Linked DNA regions of Homo sapiens: regions 2 and 3 are each linked to region 1. Evidence: promoter capture Hi-C in 16 types of primary human blood cells and fetal thymus (Javierre and others, 2016). All regions are on one chromosome and are shown on one strand. The core of a region is centred on a gene start or on the middle of the fragment in contact, and the rest is flanking DNA. Distances in the headings are between cores, read along the strand shown. Region 1 holds the start of PPP4R1 (protein phosphatase 4 regulatory subunit 1). Region 2 overlaps GACAT2 (gastric cancer associated transcript 2). Region 3 holds the start of LOC124904243 (a long non-coding RNA gene).

Evidence for each region. Contacts are between HindIII fragments. The CHiCAGO score rates a contact against its expected background, and 5 or more counts as called.
Region 2: a fragment that was not itself captured here is called in contact with the fragment with the promoter of PPP4R1 in region 1 in 3 of 17 cell types (total CD4 T cells, activated CD4 T cells and total CD8 T cells); the score reaches 6.0 in total CD4 T cells.
Region 3: a contact is called between a fragment that was not itself captured here and the fragment with the promoter of PPP4R1 in region 1, in 1 of 17 cell types (non-activated CD4 T cells). The highest score is 6.6, in non-activated CD4 T cells.

The regions. Positions count from the first base shown.
Region 1 is chr18:9,610,700-9,615,808 of GRCh38, forward strand. It overlaps PPP4R1 (protein phosphatase 4 regulatory subunit 1), which reads right to left and starts at 3,860. Exons shown (of 20, transcript NM_001042388.3): 1 at 3,779-3,860; 2 at 3,527-3,571. The coding sequence starts at 3,785. It overlaps PPP4R1-AS1 (PPP4R1 antisense RNA 1), which reads left to right and starts at 4,108. Exons shown (of 3, transcript NR_110773.1): 1 at 4,108-4,315. RefSeq lists an enhancer at 2,977-3,056 and silencers at 3,327-3,576, 3,677-3,946, 4,047-4,556. The HindIII fragment of the contact is 7,461 bases long and covers 1,414-5,109 here.
Region 2 is chr18:8,698,462-8,703,570 of GRCh38, forward strand. All of the region lies in intron 1 of GACAT2 (gastric cancer associated transcript 2), which reads right to left. Among named protein-coding and RNA genes, the nearest start is that of MTCL1, 4.5 kb to the right of the region's middle. The HindIII fragment of the contact is 4,632 bases long and covers 79-4,710 here.
Region 3 is chr18:9,063,296-9,068,404 of GRCh38, forward strand. It overlaps LOC124904243 (a long non-coding RNA gene), which reads right to left and starts at 2,496. Exons shown (of 2, transcript XR_007066278.1): 1 at 2,043-2,496. RefSeq lists an enhancer at 3,357-3,576. The HindIII fragment of the contact is 788 bases long and covers 2,478-3,265 here.

The sequences.
Region 1 (5,109 bases), core at 2,610-5,109:
CCGCCCACCTCGGCCTCCCAAAGTGCTGGGATTACAGGCATGAGCCACTGCACCCAGCCTATTCTCCTAAATTTAAGAGTACCTGATAATGATTTCATTTACTTACCTTTATAAGTTACTTGATAAAAGTTTAAGTTCTAATGAAACTCCTTCAATGAAATTATGTGTACACACACACACACACACACACACACACAAATACCATCCATTTTTCCCTCATTAGGATTTTTTTTCCTCCAAAGGTTATCAGTCAAGTCAGTCTTTGACCAACCTTTTCCCCGACTCTGTGCCTCTGTACAGAGACGGGATTAAAACAAATCAAATCGAAAGACCTGAGACTCTTAGCAATGTCTGGCAATGCCCCTCTTTCAAGTCCTAGACTCCAGCTAGGTCCTTTCCTAGATCATCTGCACAACAGAACTTACTGTCTCTTCCCTCATAGTCCAGGTTCTGCATTTAGGAAGGTCAACCAAGATTCTAGAGCTTGACCAGAAAACAATTTCTTCCCATCCCAAGGGCCAACTTACACCTAGCTTGGCTGAAGTAGTAGGACTTGTTTACAACTACTCTGGAGGTTGGGCTCCATACTCTGGAGTTTTACCATAGACAGAGAAACTCAGGCTCACGAGATAACAACCGTGTTATAAGGGCAGCCCAAGCTCCGTTCCTCTACCTTTGGGTCCTCTACCTTCTCCAGCTTCTCCAGGATGTGACAGCTGTCTCAGTCCTTTACCAACCATCTTGCTCTCTAAGGAGGCACCATGGCCCAGTGTTCCCCCTCATTCTTTCTCCCTTCACAAGAGATGGGAAGTGGTCCTTCAACTGGCCATATGTCCAAAAGTCCTTTGTTCCTGAATATTCTGGGTAAAGGTATCACCTGTAAAAACTTTAGTAACTGAGAAAAATAAGCAATTACTCTAACAAAGCCTTCAACCAAATTATGAATATGCAAATAACTATTGTGCCTTCAATGTCTGTTTTATCCTAAATTAAAATGCACAGGAAACAGAATCTTTAAAAAGTTAGTTGCAGCCGGGCGCAGTGGCTCACGCCTGTAATCCCAGCACTTTGGGAGGCCAAGGCAGGTGGATCACCTGAGGTCGGGAGTTCGAGACCAGCCTGATCAACATGGAGAAACCCCGTCTCTACTAAAAGTACAAAATTAGCCAGGCGTGGTGGCACACGCCTGTAATCCCAGTTACTTGGGAGGCTGAGGCAGGAGAATCACTTGAACCCGGGAGGCAGAGGTTGCGGTGAGCCGAGATCGCGCCATTTTGCACTCCAGCCTGGGCAACAAGAGTGAAACTCCATCTCAAAAAAAAAAAAAATTTAGTTGCGAGCATTGGCAGCATCTTTAAGTACCTTCATTCTGTAAGGTTCAACATCAGTGTTTCCTTCTCTGCTCTTCTTTTAAGCTTCCCTTGCTCTTTTCTCATAACAGCAAACATAATCATAATCATCGCTGTTTACCAGGAATTGTTCCAAGTGCTTCAGAGGCACTAACTCATGTACAGCCTTGAACAACTCTATGAAGTAGGTAATATTTCTTATGCCTACTTACAAATGACAAAACTGAGGCATAGGGAGGTTAAGTGAGTTGCCCAAGTCTGCCCAAAAAGACACTGCTAAGACAAACAGAGCAGCCTGGCTCCAGTGGTAACTGTAATACTGTACTGTACACCTAGATTCAAAACTGCTTGTAAACCACTAGAGGGCATGGGTTGTGCCCATCTTTCTCAAAGCTCCATCCCCAGTACCTGGCAGAGTGTTGAAACTCATGGTTGAATTTTTCACAGGTATGCCTTCCCCTCTACACTGTGCTTCTTGGGGGCTAAGGAAGAAACTGAGACTGCATTTCATCCTTCAGGAGTGAGAAGTTTTTGCTCCAGTCATAAATACTTGCTGAATAAATGAATCTTCTATTTACGAAGTCGAACATAAATATAAAAAGCCCTCCTCGAGGTAACATAATCAGGGCCATTTCTCCAATCCTAACCTGGCAAGAGATCTGAAATCAACAGATGCCTTAAATAATATCTCAAACTTACTATTAGGCAGATAAGTGGCTTAAGGTAAACATTAAATAAAATGTTAAAGCTGCCCTTCACTACATGAGTACTGCTCCCTTTAAGAGAGCTGTTTTGAGCCACCTCACTAAAAACACAGACTTAGCAAAAGTTTGGATGTGGTTCATTTACTTTAAAGATAAATTACTCGTTTCAGATAATCCATCTAAATAGTAAATCCCCCTTACTTTACTCAAAACAACCAGGAATCTAAAAATTAAGTTTACTCTGAGTAAGGGAACCACATTAGACAATGCTAAGGATTAACTACAGAGTATTTAAAAGAGTAATTTCAAACTGCAGCCATCTCTGAAATTACTTATACAGGTACTAGACAGTCAATCTCAGCATCCGGTAGGCTTTCCACTAAACAGACCACAATCCTACTATGGTTATCATCTCAACTCAGAACAATTTCTTGGTCCCTTATGTATCCCATGATCTTCGCTTATATATTTTGCACACTCTGCATTTTTAAAATGCATCTCAAAACCTATTGATTTTTTGATGGGTCGCTATTTTGGAAGATTAGCAAGAATAGAAACTATTTTAAGTTAACTGCAATTTGTCACTTCTTTCAATACAAACCTGCTTAACTCTTTTGTCTTTTCTATCGTGACCCAAATTATTTTCTGAGGCTTAGAAAAGTACATATAAGACGAAAAATTCCTTTCTAAATATCAATTCCGTCGCCATCAGGAAATGTCAGAAACTTTGTCTTTTTAAAAATAAAAGCGTCAACTCTTTAAAAACTTCAGTACCTCAAAGGAAAGCTGCACTGTTAACACTGAAGGAGGGCTGGGTGATTTCTGAACATCCGCATTAAAGAAATATGCTCTCCAAACCTAGTAATTCCTGCGGAGGCCACACCTTCTAACCTTCTCGTAATCCACTAATCAAATCGGGAGCATCTGAAAACTGCTACCAGCCAAAGTAAAATGACAGGTATGTCATCCTCAAACAATCCAAAACCGGGTCGGGGAGCCCAGACGGCTAGCCGGGGCCCAGGCTGACCCCCGGGCGCTCCTGGAAGAGCGACTCTAAGGAAACACACCTCCCGCGCGAGCCTCTTCCTTCCTAGAGTGACGGGGGAAGGGGACACCAGGGGCAGAAACACACCCAAACCCCACTTCAAATCCTGCCCCACCGCTTCTCCTTCCAAAACAGCCGCGCCACTGCTGAGCCCGCAGGCGATTCGGGGGCGCCGGGAGAAGAGAGCGAAGGGCGGAAAGCGAACTTGGGCGTTACTCCGGGCGTCTCCCTCCCCCAGCGGAACCTGGGCGCGCCGTTTCCTCACGGACGCGAGATTTTCCCCCCCGATCGCCACCCCAGCCCGCCTGGGGCCGCCCTCGCCCACCGTCCCCTCAGCCAGCCAGGGCCCGGCCCAGGCCTCGCCGCCGCCCGCCCTCCCCGGCCGCTCCCCGCGGACTGCCAGGCCACCGCGAGGCCGGGCCACTCACATCCGTCTGCGTCCTCCTGCAGGTCCTCCTGAAGCAGCGAGAGGTCTGCGCCGAGGGGAGAGAAGAAAGGCCCGGTCAGCGCCCCGGGGCCCGGCGCGACGCCCCCCCCCCGCCCGCCTCCCCCCCGCCCCGGGGGCGCCTTCCCGCGCCGGGACCCCACGCCGGCCCCGGCCCGGCAGCCACTCAGGGCTGCGGCGGAGGGCGGGTGGGCTCGAGGAGCCGCCGCCGCCCGGAGAACAGGGGGCCACGTACCCGCCATCTTGTGGTCGCCCCCTCCTCCGCGGCCGCCCGGGGAGCCGGGGCTACATGGAGCGGCGCGAGCCGGGGAGCCGGTGGACGCGCGCGGGAGGGGCGGCGGGGAGGAGGAGGGCCGGGCTGGCGGGGGCGCGCGCGCGGGGCGGGCCGAGGGCCCGGGCCTGCCGCGGGCGGCGCGGCTCCCGGCCGCCCGGGCCCCCGGCCGCGCCCCGCCCCGCCCCGCCTGCCCCTCCGCGCGGCTCCCGGGCGACCGGCGCTCCCGCCTCCCGCCTTTCCCGCTGCTTGCCGGGTCCCGGCCCGGCGACGCGCGCTCACACCCTCCTCCCGAGCCGCCCTCACGCCGAGCGCTGCGGACGGGGGCGCGCAACCTGCCGCCGGCCGGGACCCTGCGGCGAGTGCCGGAACCCGGCCGGGCGGGGCCTCCCGCGGCCCGGCCGCTTTATTGGGTCACCGGCCTCGCCCACCGCCCTGCCAGCCGCAGCCATCTCGGCGGGCGCGCCGCTCGCAGCCAGCGCCCCATCCCCAGGCCTGCACGTACGTCGTCGGCGATCCGGGGCCGGGGGCGGCTCCGAGGTCGTCGGGGCCGGGGTCCCACCTCCTCTTGGAGGAAGCGCCGCCTCCCCACCCGCCCGGGGCCCTCGCCAAGTGGCTGCTAACAAAGCCCAGGGCCCGGCTGCGGGATGGTTGACTGACAAAGTCATGCCTGCCTAGCCAGCTTCCTCGTGCAGCACGGTGAAGGCTGGGGCGCCGGGTTTTTACTCCCACGTCCTGCCAACTCGAGCTGACAAGGCGGGCAATCCACCAGCGGGAGCGTTGGCAGGCCCGGGGTCAGATCCTGATTCAGCCAGTTAATTGGTAGGAGTGGGGCCCATTTGTAGAATGAAGGTGATAACTGCCTCGTGGGGTTATTGGCATTAAATGAAGAATGTAGGGAACCTAGCATGGTTCTTGATGTCTAGGAGGTGCTCGGTGAAGGGTGCCTATGATTCGCTTTGTCTTCTAAATACTTTTGGCAGCACTTGAGGTGTTAAAGTCTGTATCCCAGACTTTATTAGTCTTGTTGTTTTACGTGACTTAAGCGATTAGCTCAAACGCCCAAGTACAAAATGGGGCTAAACCCAGGTTTTCCGACACGATTCTACCTCCATGGCTCTATCTCCAGCTCCACCCAAGGCCTCCAAAATGGTGTTCTCCTAAAGTGACCAACAAAACACCAAGCTGTGTCATGGTGCCACTTTGGCGATGTGGTCTCTTAGGAGAGGGAATTCTAAGTAGTTAATTAGCTTGTTCCTTTCTACGTTGTAGTCTTGACCAAGGACAATGTGTTG
Region 2 (5,109 bases), core at 1,145-3,644, 910 kb before region 1:
TACTTCTCTAATGGTAATACAAAAAAGAAATAATAAGAAACCAACTTATAACAAAATAATATCTATTTCAATATATAAAGCTTAGGTACATATATACTACAAAATATATAATGAAGTAGTCAGATGCTCTACATAGAAGCAACTGCTAAAACACGGACAAATACAGGTGGGTTCTATTCATGACTCCAGTCCCTTGAGTGGCACTCCCTCAATGCAATGATCAAAGATAAAAAATGCATTGAAAATCTCCAAATAAAATGCAGTCTTTATTTTATTTTTATTTTCTTTGTGTTGTTTTGAAACAGACTCTCCCTTTCTCACCCAGTGCAGTGGTGCGATCTCGGCTCACTGCAACCTCCACCTCCTGGGTTCAAGTGATTCTCCTGCCTCACCCTCCCGAGTAGCTGGAATTACAGGCATGTGCCACCACATCCGGCTAATTTGTTGTATTTTCAGTAGAGATGGGGTTTCGCTATGTTAGGCAGGCTGGTCTCAAACTCCTGACCTCAAATGATCCACTGCCCTCGGCCTCCCAAAGTGCTGGGATTATAGGCGTGAGCCACTGTGCCCAGCCCAGTCTTGATTTCTACTGTGGTTTCATTCCTAAAAAAAAATTCAGTTGATGGTAAAACAACCCTAAAAACATACTGCTTTAGTATACATATATCAAAACAACACGGTGTACTCTGTCAATGTAATTATGATAATTATGATTTGTCAATTAATAGTTATATTAACTTTTAAAAAATATTTTAAAAACTTAAAAAATACTGCTTTATATGTAAAAGTATTGTGTTTATGTGTAAAACATGTACTTCTAGCCTTAGATAATGATAAACAGATTTTTTTACCCACGTGAATGTTTCAGAGGACTCTTACTTGGAAGTCCTGTAGCAGGAGAGATGACTCTTTTTTTTTTTCTTTTTCTGAGATGGAGTCTCACTCCATCACCCAGGCTGGAGTACAGTGGCGAGATCTCAGCTCACTGCAACCTCTGCCTCCTCGGTTCAAGCGACTCTCCCACCTCAGCCTCCCGAGTAGCTGGAATTACGGGCACATGCCACCATGACAGGCTAATTTTTGTATTTTTAGTAGAGACAGGGTTTCATCATGTTGGCCAGGCTGGTCTCAAACTCCTGGACTCAAGTGATCCACCACCTCAGCCACGCAAAGTGCTAGGATTACAAGTGTGAGTCACCTCATCCCGCCTAGGACGACCCTTCTCTGGGCACACTGCAAGATATCTAGCCCCCCTGACTATTCCCCTTCCCTCACTTAAATGCCAGTAGTGCCCTCCAATCCAGTTGTTATGACAAGAGAAAACACCCCAATATACGTCTAGAATGCTCCCTGTGGGTGCTTCCACCCCCATGAAGAACCACTGGTCAGGAGGGAAAGGGCCTCCTTACACCTTCACCTCTCTACTTCCTCTGGTTCTCATGTCACAGGGAGACTCCCCTGTTCTCCCAGCAGACTCTAGAGCACACCTTAGGTTGGGACTCTCTAGTTCAGATTTAAGTGAGCAAATATCCATCACCCAGCATCTCACATGCATAGAGGTGGGTCATCCCGCACAGTATTGGAAGGAGTTTTGAACAGAAATAGGAAGAACGCACATGACAAGCCATGTGACACTTGGACCTGTGTAGAAACACTAACACATGTGTCTGTGGTCTCAGCTACTTGGCAAGCTGAGGTGGGAGGATCACTGGAGCCCAGGATTTGGAGTCTGCAGTGAGCTATGATTGCACACTCTGCTCCAGCCTGGGTGACCAAGCAAAACCTTGTCTTTTTAAAAAAAAAAAAAAAAAAAAAAGAAGGAAGAGAGAAAAAAGAAACACTAACACAGTGTTTTTCAATGGGAAGTAAGATAATTACTTGCATCAAAAGTATTTGTTAAAAATACAGCCTTCCGGCCGGGCGTAGTGGCTCACACCTGTAATCCCAGCACTTTGGGACTCTGAGGCGTGCGGATCATTTGAGGTCAGGAGTTTGAGACCAGCCTGGCCAACATGGCGAAACCCTGTCTCTACTGAAAATACAAAAAATTAGCTGGGCGTGGTGGCGGATACCTGTAATCTCAGCTACTCAGGAGGCTGAGGCAGAAGAGTCGCTTGAGTCCAGGAGGCGGAGGTTGCAGTGAGCCAAGATCGTTCCACTGCACTTTAGCCTGGGCAACAGAACAAGATTCCACCTCAAAATAATAATAATAATAATAATAATAATAATAATAATAATAATACAGCTTTCTGGGCTCATATCTCTTAAATCAGATCCCTGGGGATGTGGCCAGATAATTTGCATTTTTAACAGTCTCACCAGGAGATTTTAATGACCTCAAGGTTTAAGAGCCTCTTAAGTTATTGTCATTGTCACCACCAATGCCATGCACAGCTGCCAATCTGGACATGAAGCCTTTTTCAGGTCCCATGTGGCATTTTGGCAATCACCCTTGCAAAGAGAGCTGGGAGGTCCCCACAGACCCCAGTGTTGGATGCAGACTCCAGCTTCAACCTTGGCGGGTGGTGGGGAGGCGGGGGGATCAGGCATTATTAGGTTGTCTCTTTTTAAGGTTAACTTTCTTGCAGTGCCCAAAAAGCCACTCACTCTGAAAAATTCCCTCTTCTTTCCATTCTTTTCAAAGAGTATGATTTCATGATTTCTCATGACTTCAACCAGGAATGCTTTCATATTTTAAATGTGCCTTTCTGTTAAAATAAGGGGAAAAACTGGAAGATACACATATGCCTGGGTTTGGACAATGTATTAAAGGTATAGAAATTCTGCATATAATTCTGCCTGGGAGTATAGAGTGAAGTATAGTCCTGAGTAAGTCACATTTTTTTTTTTGTCTATGAGTCAAACCAAGTAAAAAAAGAATTCATTTCTCTTTATATAACTGTATAGACACAGAATAGATTTCTAACTCTCTGAGTGAGAGTTTGGAATCTGAGTGAAAAATCTGGTTTGCTCATATTTTAAGAGTTTTGAAGATTATTTCACTGGTGTTAAATAATGATGATGATTCTGAAGATTATTTCACTGGTGTTAAATGATGATGATGACTTGATAACAATACCTTACCCAAGGCCACACAGACAGCAAATGACTTGGGCAGGATTTGAACCCAGATTTACCTGGTGTCAAAGCCTCAGGTCTTGTCACCATACCACACCGTTCTTGGACAAAGAGGTTGTGAACACAGCCACACAAACATTACTCATCACACCACTGCTGCACGCAGCTCCCTAGGACAGTATTTGGGCCTCTGCAGAGGAATGAGACGATGGGGCCCTGGGCCTTGTGCCAGCATTTACAATCCAGGGTTGCAATGCAGGGAATCAGCCACAGTGAAGCAACCCGGAGATCTGCAAGCACAGGAAGGCACCACCACCCTTGATACGAGGCAGTGGAGGACGAAAAGCTACCAGGAGGAGTAGTCCATCCAGTGATGGCTGGAACCTCAGAAATCCACTCCTCACAGAGACCCAGCCACTGCCAGAGAAGCCGCCTGCAGCAGAGAGAGTAAGAAATAACCTGGTTTCTTCCTTCTGGGTCCACTCCCATCTCCTGACGGCACCTCCACTGGCCAAACCCAATCAGCAAACCCAGCGGCCTGGAAACCCACACTTCCACTCACATCAGAGTAGCAGAGGGGCAAGACTGGATCTGAGGGCACGCAGATGAAAACAGGCACGCCCATGCTGGGTTTTGTTATTTCACAGAATAAGCACTCTATGGTTCCCTTAAATAGTAAATCCTCTATTACCTTTAGATTAATTTGATTTAACAGAAAAAGAATTTAAAATCAAGTATTTCCTTTCTTTGCTCCCTCCTTCCCTTCCTCCCTTCCCTTCCCTTCTTTCCCTCCCTCCCTCCCTGCCTCCTTCCCTCCCTTCCTTCCTTCCCATTTTTTTGAGACAGGGTTTCACTCCCATCACCCAGGCTGGAGTGCAGTGGCATGATCATGGCTCACTGCAACCTCCCCTCCTGGGCTTGAGGGAGCCTCCTGCCTCAGCCTCTCAAGTAGCTGGAACTACAGGTGTATGCCACCATGCCCAGCTTATTTTTGTATTTTTGTGTTTTTTTGGTAGAGACAGGATTTTGCCATGTTGCCCAGGCTGATCTCCAACTCCTGAGCTCAAGCTATCTGCCCACCTTGGCCTCCCAAAATGCTGGGATTACAGGCGTGAGCCACCACGCCTGGACCACTTTTTCTTTTTCTTTTCTTTTCTTTTTTTTTTTGAGTGACTTTAAAAAACATCTATTATGCAATCAGATATCTCTTTATACCTGTAACTCACTGAATACTGGAAAACAAAGAAGGCATTATTGGCTGGGCTGGGTGGTGCATGCCTGTAGTCCCAGCTACTTGGGAGGCTGAGGTGGGAAGATGGCTTAAGCCCAGGAAGTTTGACTTCAGTCTGGGCAACATAGCAAGACCCCATCTCTTAAAAAAAAAAAGGAAGAAAAAAGAAAAAAAAAGAGAAAGCATTGATTGAATACTTCCTTACAAAGGGCTAGTAGTCTCATTTGCCAGGCTAATAATAAGTAGTAAGGAGGATGAATTTTATCTGACTTATTACCTGAAAGAAAGAGAAGCTGGCTGCAAATCCTATAGTCATCAAGCTACTGTCTTTAGAAGACTAGCGTATTGAAACTTTTTTGGGGGGCCCTTTCTTTGAGTGTATATGGTATGAGAAGCTGGCAAGCTTGTGCTGAGAGTCCTGGCCATAATTCTTCGGAAATGTGAGGGTGTGGGAGGCTTCAGAGCCTCTGGAGGAAGTTCTAGGCAGAGGTCAGTTGTGCTCTGGCCCGACCGCGGGCCCCCTCCCACGGAAGGGCAGAGCTAGAGGGCCCTCTGGGGACAGCAGGCCCGGCGCGAGCGGTGGCCAACACCTCTCAAGCCTTTCGAGGTGTGCCGTCATCCACGCCCACCGTGGAGCCAACAGTGTCCTTCTCCCAACGCTGGAGAAACGGCTAGGGCATTAGCCTCAAAGGAGATTAAGGAATTGGATTTCGTAGAGATTGGATTTCGTGCGTGCTGTCTCCCATTCAGAGGCATTCCCAGAAAAACGACTCACAAAGACCACAACAGCAGCAGAGCAG
Region 3 (5,109 bases), core at 1,622-4,121, 550 kb before region 1:
TTCTCCCACCTCAGGCTTCTTAGTAGCTGGGATTACAAGCGCCCACCACCGTGCCTGGCTAATTTTTGTATTTTTAGTAGAGATGGGGTTTCGCCATGTTGCCCAGGCTGGTCTCGAACTCCTGAGCTCAAGTAATCTTCCCACCTAGGCCTCCCAAAGTGCTGGGATTACAGGCGTGAGCCACCATGCCCAGCCCCCTGTGTTATTTTTATCCATAGCACTTATCACTATCTGAGGTAGTGAAGATGTCTATTTCCTTGTTATGATCTGTTTCCTCTGACTACAATAAAAACTCCATGAAGTCAGGGATTCTATTTGCCACTGTGCTCCAAACCCCAATGCCTAAAAGCTGTCTGTCATACACTAGGTATCTAATAAATTGTTGTTGAATTCATTAATTCTACTCATATTTATCATTTACTTTTTTCAATTGCAGTTCAAGGGGGAGAGAGAGACAAATCAACAGGTACTTATAATACAGTGGGTAAGTGCTGTATTTGGAGAAGTATAGGGCATTACAGAGTAACAAAGGAGAACCAGATGCGAATAAAGAAATAAGGAAATATAAGTGCCCTCAGAGAAGTCGTCTGACATCCTGCATGCTCCAATTTGGCATACCCAGCATCCTATCTGACCTGGGGAGTTCTGGTGCTTTTGTTTTAATTTGTGATTATAAATGTGTCAGATGTGTCAGTCATTGCCTTCCTAGGCAAATGCAAAATCACAAAACATTTTCTTATCAAAAATAATAGCCTCGGGCCAGGCGCTGTGGCTCACACCTGTAATCCCAGCACTTTGGGAGGCCGAGATGGGCAGATAACCTGAGGTCGGCAGCTCAAGACTAGCCTGGCAAACATGGTGAAACCCTGTCTCTACTGAAAACACAAAAATTAGCCAGGCGTAGTGGCGGGTGCCTGTAACTCCAGCTATTCGGAAGGCTGAGACAGGAGAATTCCTTGAACCCGGGAGGCAGAGGTTGCTGTGAGCTGAGATTGTGCCACTGCACTCCAGCCTCTGACAGTAAAACTCTGTATCCTAAATAAATAAGTAAATAAAATAAAATTGTAAAAAAAGTTATAGCCTGGGACTCAACAAAAACAACGTTCCTATGGGAACACAGTTTTGTCTTTTTTTGTTTAAACAGTTGTTGTTGTTGTTGTTGTTTTTGAGACAGGGTCTTGCTCTGTTGCCCAGGCTGGAGTGCAGTGGCACAACCACAGCTCACTGTAGTCTCAACCTCCTGGGCTCAAGCGATCCTCCCACCTCAGTTTCCTGAGTAGCTGGGATCACAGGCACGCCACCACACCTGACTAATTTTCTGTATTTTTTTTTCTAGGGATTCGGTTTTGCCATGTTGCCCAGGCAGGTATCAAACTCCTGAACTCAAACAATCCACCTTCTTCGGCCTCCCAAAGTGCTGGGATTATAGGCTGTTTTATACTTTTTAGGTGATTAAGTATCTTTAAATATTTACCGAACAATTTATTTTAATTATTCTAAATTTTCTTCTAATTATTATGAATGTAGATACATGTTTCACAAAATTACAATTATACTCACATAAAATCTATACAGGCGGTGGCTCGCGCCTGTAATCCCAGCACCTTGGGAGCCCAAGGTGGGTGGATCACCTGAGGTCAGGAGTTCGAGACCAGCCTGAACAACATGATGAAACGCTGTCTCTACTAAAAAGACAAAATTAGCCAGGTGTGGTGGCACACGCCTATAATCCCAGCACTTTTGGGAGGCTGAGGTGGGTAGATCTCCTGAGGTCAGGAGTTTGGGACCAGCCTGGCTAACATGGTGAAGCCCTGTCTCTACTAAAAATACAAAAATTAGCCAGTCATGGTGGTGGGTGCCTGTAATCCTACCTACTCAGGAGGCTGACACAGGAGAATCGCTTGAACCTGGGAGGTGGAGGTTGCAGTGAGCTGAGATCATGCCATGGCACTCCAGCCTGGGCAACAAGAGTGAAACTCCCTAAAGAAAAAAAAAAAAAAAAAAGCTATAGCTTTTCATGGAATATCTGCATTTGCACATACCTCTCCTCTGCATGACATTCTTCTTTCATTCACCCAGTTGTTTTCTGCTCTTTCTGGTGCCTTCTTTTTCTTTAAGCAACATTTATTCAAAGAAGTCATCACCATGGAGGCTTTTCCTATATGCTCAGGGCTACAAAATCAGCTTTTCACATCATTTTCCCCTTGGTATCTTCCTCCTCCTCCTCCTTCCTCCTTTTGTCTTCTATTCCTAGAAGTCTGTGGCTTTTCATAGTTTGGGGATTTTGTTGTTGTTGTTTTGACAGAAGAATTAAGGTCACACATGTATTTAATGCCCTGAGCCAAGTAGTGTCTTTTCCCAAAGGCCACAGAGCTTTGCCTAGGTGCCTCTGCACCGTCATCACGCTCTCATTGACCTTCCTTTCTCTTCCTCCAGGTCCAGGGGAAGTAAAAATCCCAAATCAAAAATCCCCTTAAAGCTTTATTAAAATGAGAGCTAGAAAGAAAAAAAAGATTAAAATAAATAAATGAATAAATAAAGTAAGAGCTAACAGCTAATATTTATGACGTGCTCACCATGTGCTGAGCATTCTACATAAATTCTGTCACTCCCACTTCACAGTACCTCCACGAAGTAGGTACAAATGCAAAAATCTCAGCCTCAGTGAGGGTAAGTGACTTGTCTGAGGTGCTCTGAGTACTGAATGATGGAACATTCATGTGTACCTAAACAGTCTGACCATGCAGCCATGCTCCAGCCACAGTGCAACGTGCAACACTGGTCGGGGGAGCTAACAAGGAGTTAACAAGGCAGTGAGTAACACTGCAGCTGTTACAAGAACCACTAGAAATCGTGGATTTGCAGAATATCAACAATATTTTGTCCTTGTCTTGAAGGAAAGGTACTAGGGCTAGGATTACTTTTTTTTTTTTTTTTTTTGAGACAAGGTATCGCTCTATCTCCCAAGCTCACTGGCTCACTGCAGCCTTGAACTCCTGGGCTCAAGCAACCCTCCCGCCTCGGCCTCCCTAAGTGTTGGGATTATGAGCATAAGCCATGGCGCCTGGCCTACGGTTACTTTTAGAATGTCTTCTTTCAGGATTCTCTAGGTTTTACTCTAGGATTTGGCTGGAATAGAATGCTGGTAAAGCTACCTAAGGTTTAGGCCCCCAGGTGATTCCCGGTAGTGAGATTCTTAGCAACTTTCAGAACCCACATCCGTGCTTGCTCCCTTTTTACTACATCAGCCGCTGACTCAGGACCAAGCTTTATTTGGTCTCAGCAGCCACCTGAGAACAGCAGTTGCTCAGAATTCTGCCCTGGTTGCTGGGGTTTCTACCTAAGGCCCTACCCTGTCTGGTCCCAAAGGTTCCTCTTCTTGGATTCAAGCTAACCTTGGCCTGCATTGATTTGGATGTTACCTTTTCCCTATACCAGCTCCACCCTGGAAGTTTCTTTGGCTCAGACTCCTAGAAAACCAGAAGCTGCCCTTGCCTTTGCCTTCTGTCCTTCTCAGTTTGTCCAAAATATTCCTCACCAAGCCATATAGGCTGGCTTGACCTTAAATGAATTTCAGCCCCTCTTCACTATGCTGTTCAGTTGGCACCTGGCCTGTTCTCAGTGGGGCCTGGTGACCGCGATGGCAGGTGCCTCTCTTGGGGAACCCAACCGCCTTTCATGGGATCTTCCAACCCAACTGTTACTTCCTATTTGAAAGCTTTAGACCCAAGTAGGTCCACTACAAACTCTGTTTCCAGCCAGGGGGACTTTTCTAATTCTCAGTTCATTTGCACAACAGAAATGACACCAAACCCAGTGGGTGTTCATGTCCCTCCCAGATCAGGTGACCAGCTCTGCAACCCCACTCTCTTCCCCTGGTTCTTTCTGATGATTCACCTATGAGTTACACACCTTCCCCTGTGCTAGGGCTGTCCTCTAGCCTAGACCCTACCGAGATATTCTGACAGTGTTGAGCCGTGCTTTTCACATTTCAGTCTTTCATTTATAGTGGTCACAATTTTTGTCATAGATAAATAAGTATCATCCGTACTATTAGTTATTTAATGTATTTTTCTTTAAATCACTTAGTTTTTAACTTTAAACCCAATATTCTTCAGTGTTGCCCTAAATAATATTACCTTCAAGATCAGTGGTTGGATATGCTAGTTATATATTTACTTTTTTTTTTATTTTTTGTTTAGTTTTTTATTTTATTTGAATCATCCACCTCAAAATGTCACTAGTTATATATTTTCTTTTCTTTCTTTCTTTCCTTTTTTTTTTTTTTTTTTTGAGACAGAGTCTCACTCTGTTGCCTAGGCTGGAGTGCAAACCTCCGCCTCCTGGGTTCAAGTGATTCTTGTGCCTCAGTCTCCCAAGTAGCTGGGATTACAGGCGTGCACCACCACACATGGATAATTTTTGTATTTTTGGTAGAGACGAGGTTTCACCATGTTGGCCAGGCTGGTCTTGGAACTCCAGACCTCAGGTGATCTGCCCACCTTGGCCTCCCAAAGTGCTGGGATTACAGGTGTGAGCCACCTTACCCGGCCTAGTTATATATTTTCAAACACACATTAACTAAACAAATAATTATAAGCACTGAGTCCATCAATGTCAATATGACACAGCTTTTTTTCCAGGAAACACTCGCCCAGGAAAATAAGACTGTAAGCCAATATGTAACTTGGCAATTTGCTTCAGAAAATTCCTGCAAATCAATGTATTTGGGCAGGCAGTTTGCTTACCTGGGCAAAGAGCTCGTTTATTAGACAAGTTTACTCCTAAGGACCTTTGCCTCACATGCCTTCCAATCCTGAACGATTATGTCAGAAACTGAGCCCAACCCAACCCCAATCTGTTCTCATGGTTTTGCCGCCTTGCCCAGACCGGTCTCAAACTCCTCAACTCAAGCAATCCACCTGCCTCGGCCTCCCAAAGTGCTGGGATTACAGGTGTGAGCCACCACGCATGACCTGACATTTTATTTCTTTTTTAAATTTATTTTATTTTCATCTTTTTTCATTTTTTGTTCTGAAATTTCATATGTTCAACTGTTTACCACCTAAAATCATCTCATCCATTAGGAGTGGTAGGCACAGCAGCCTT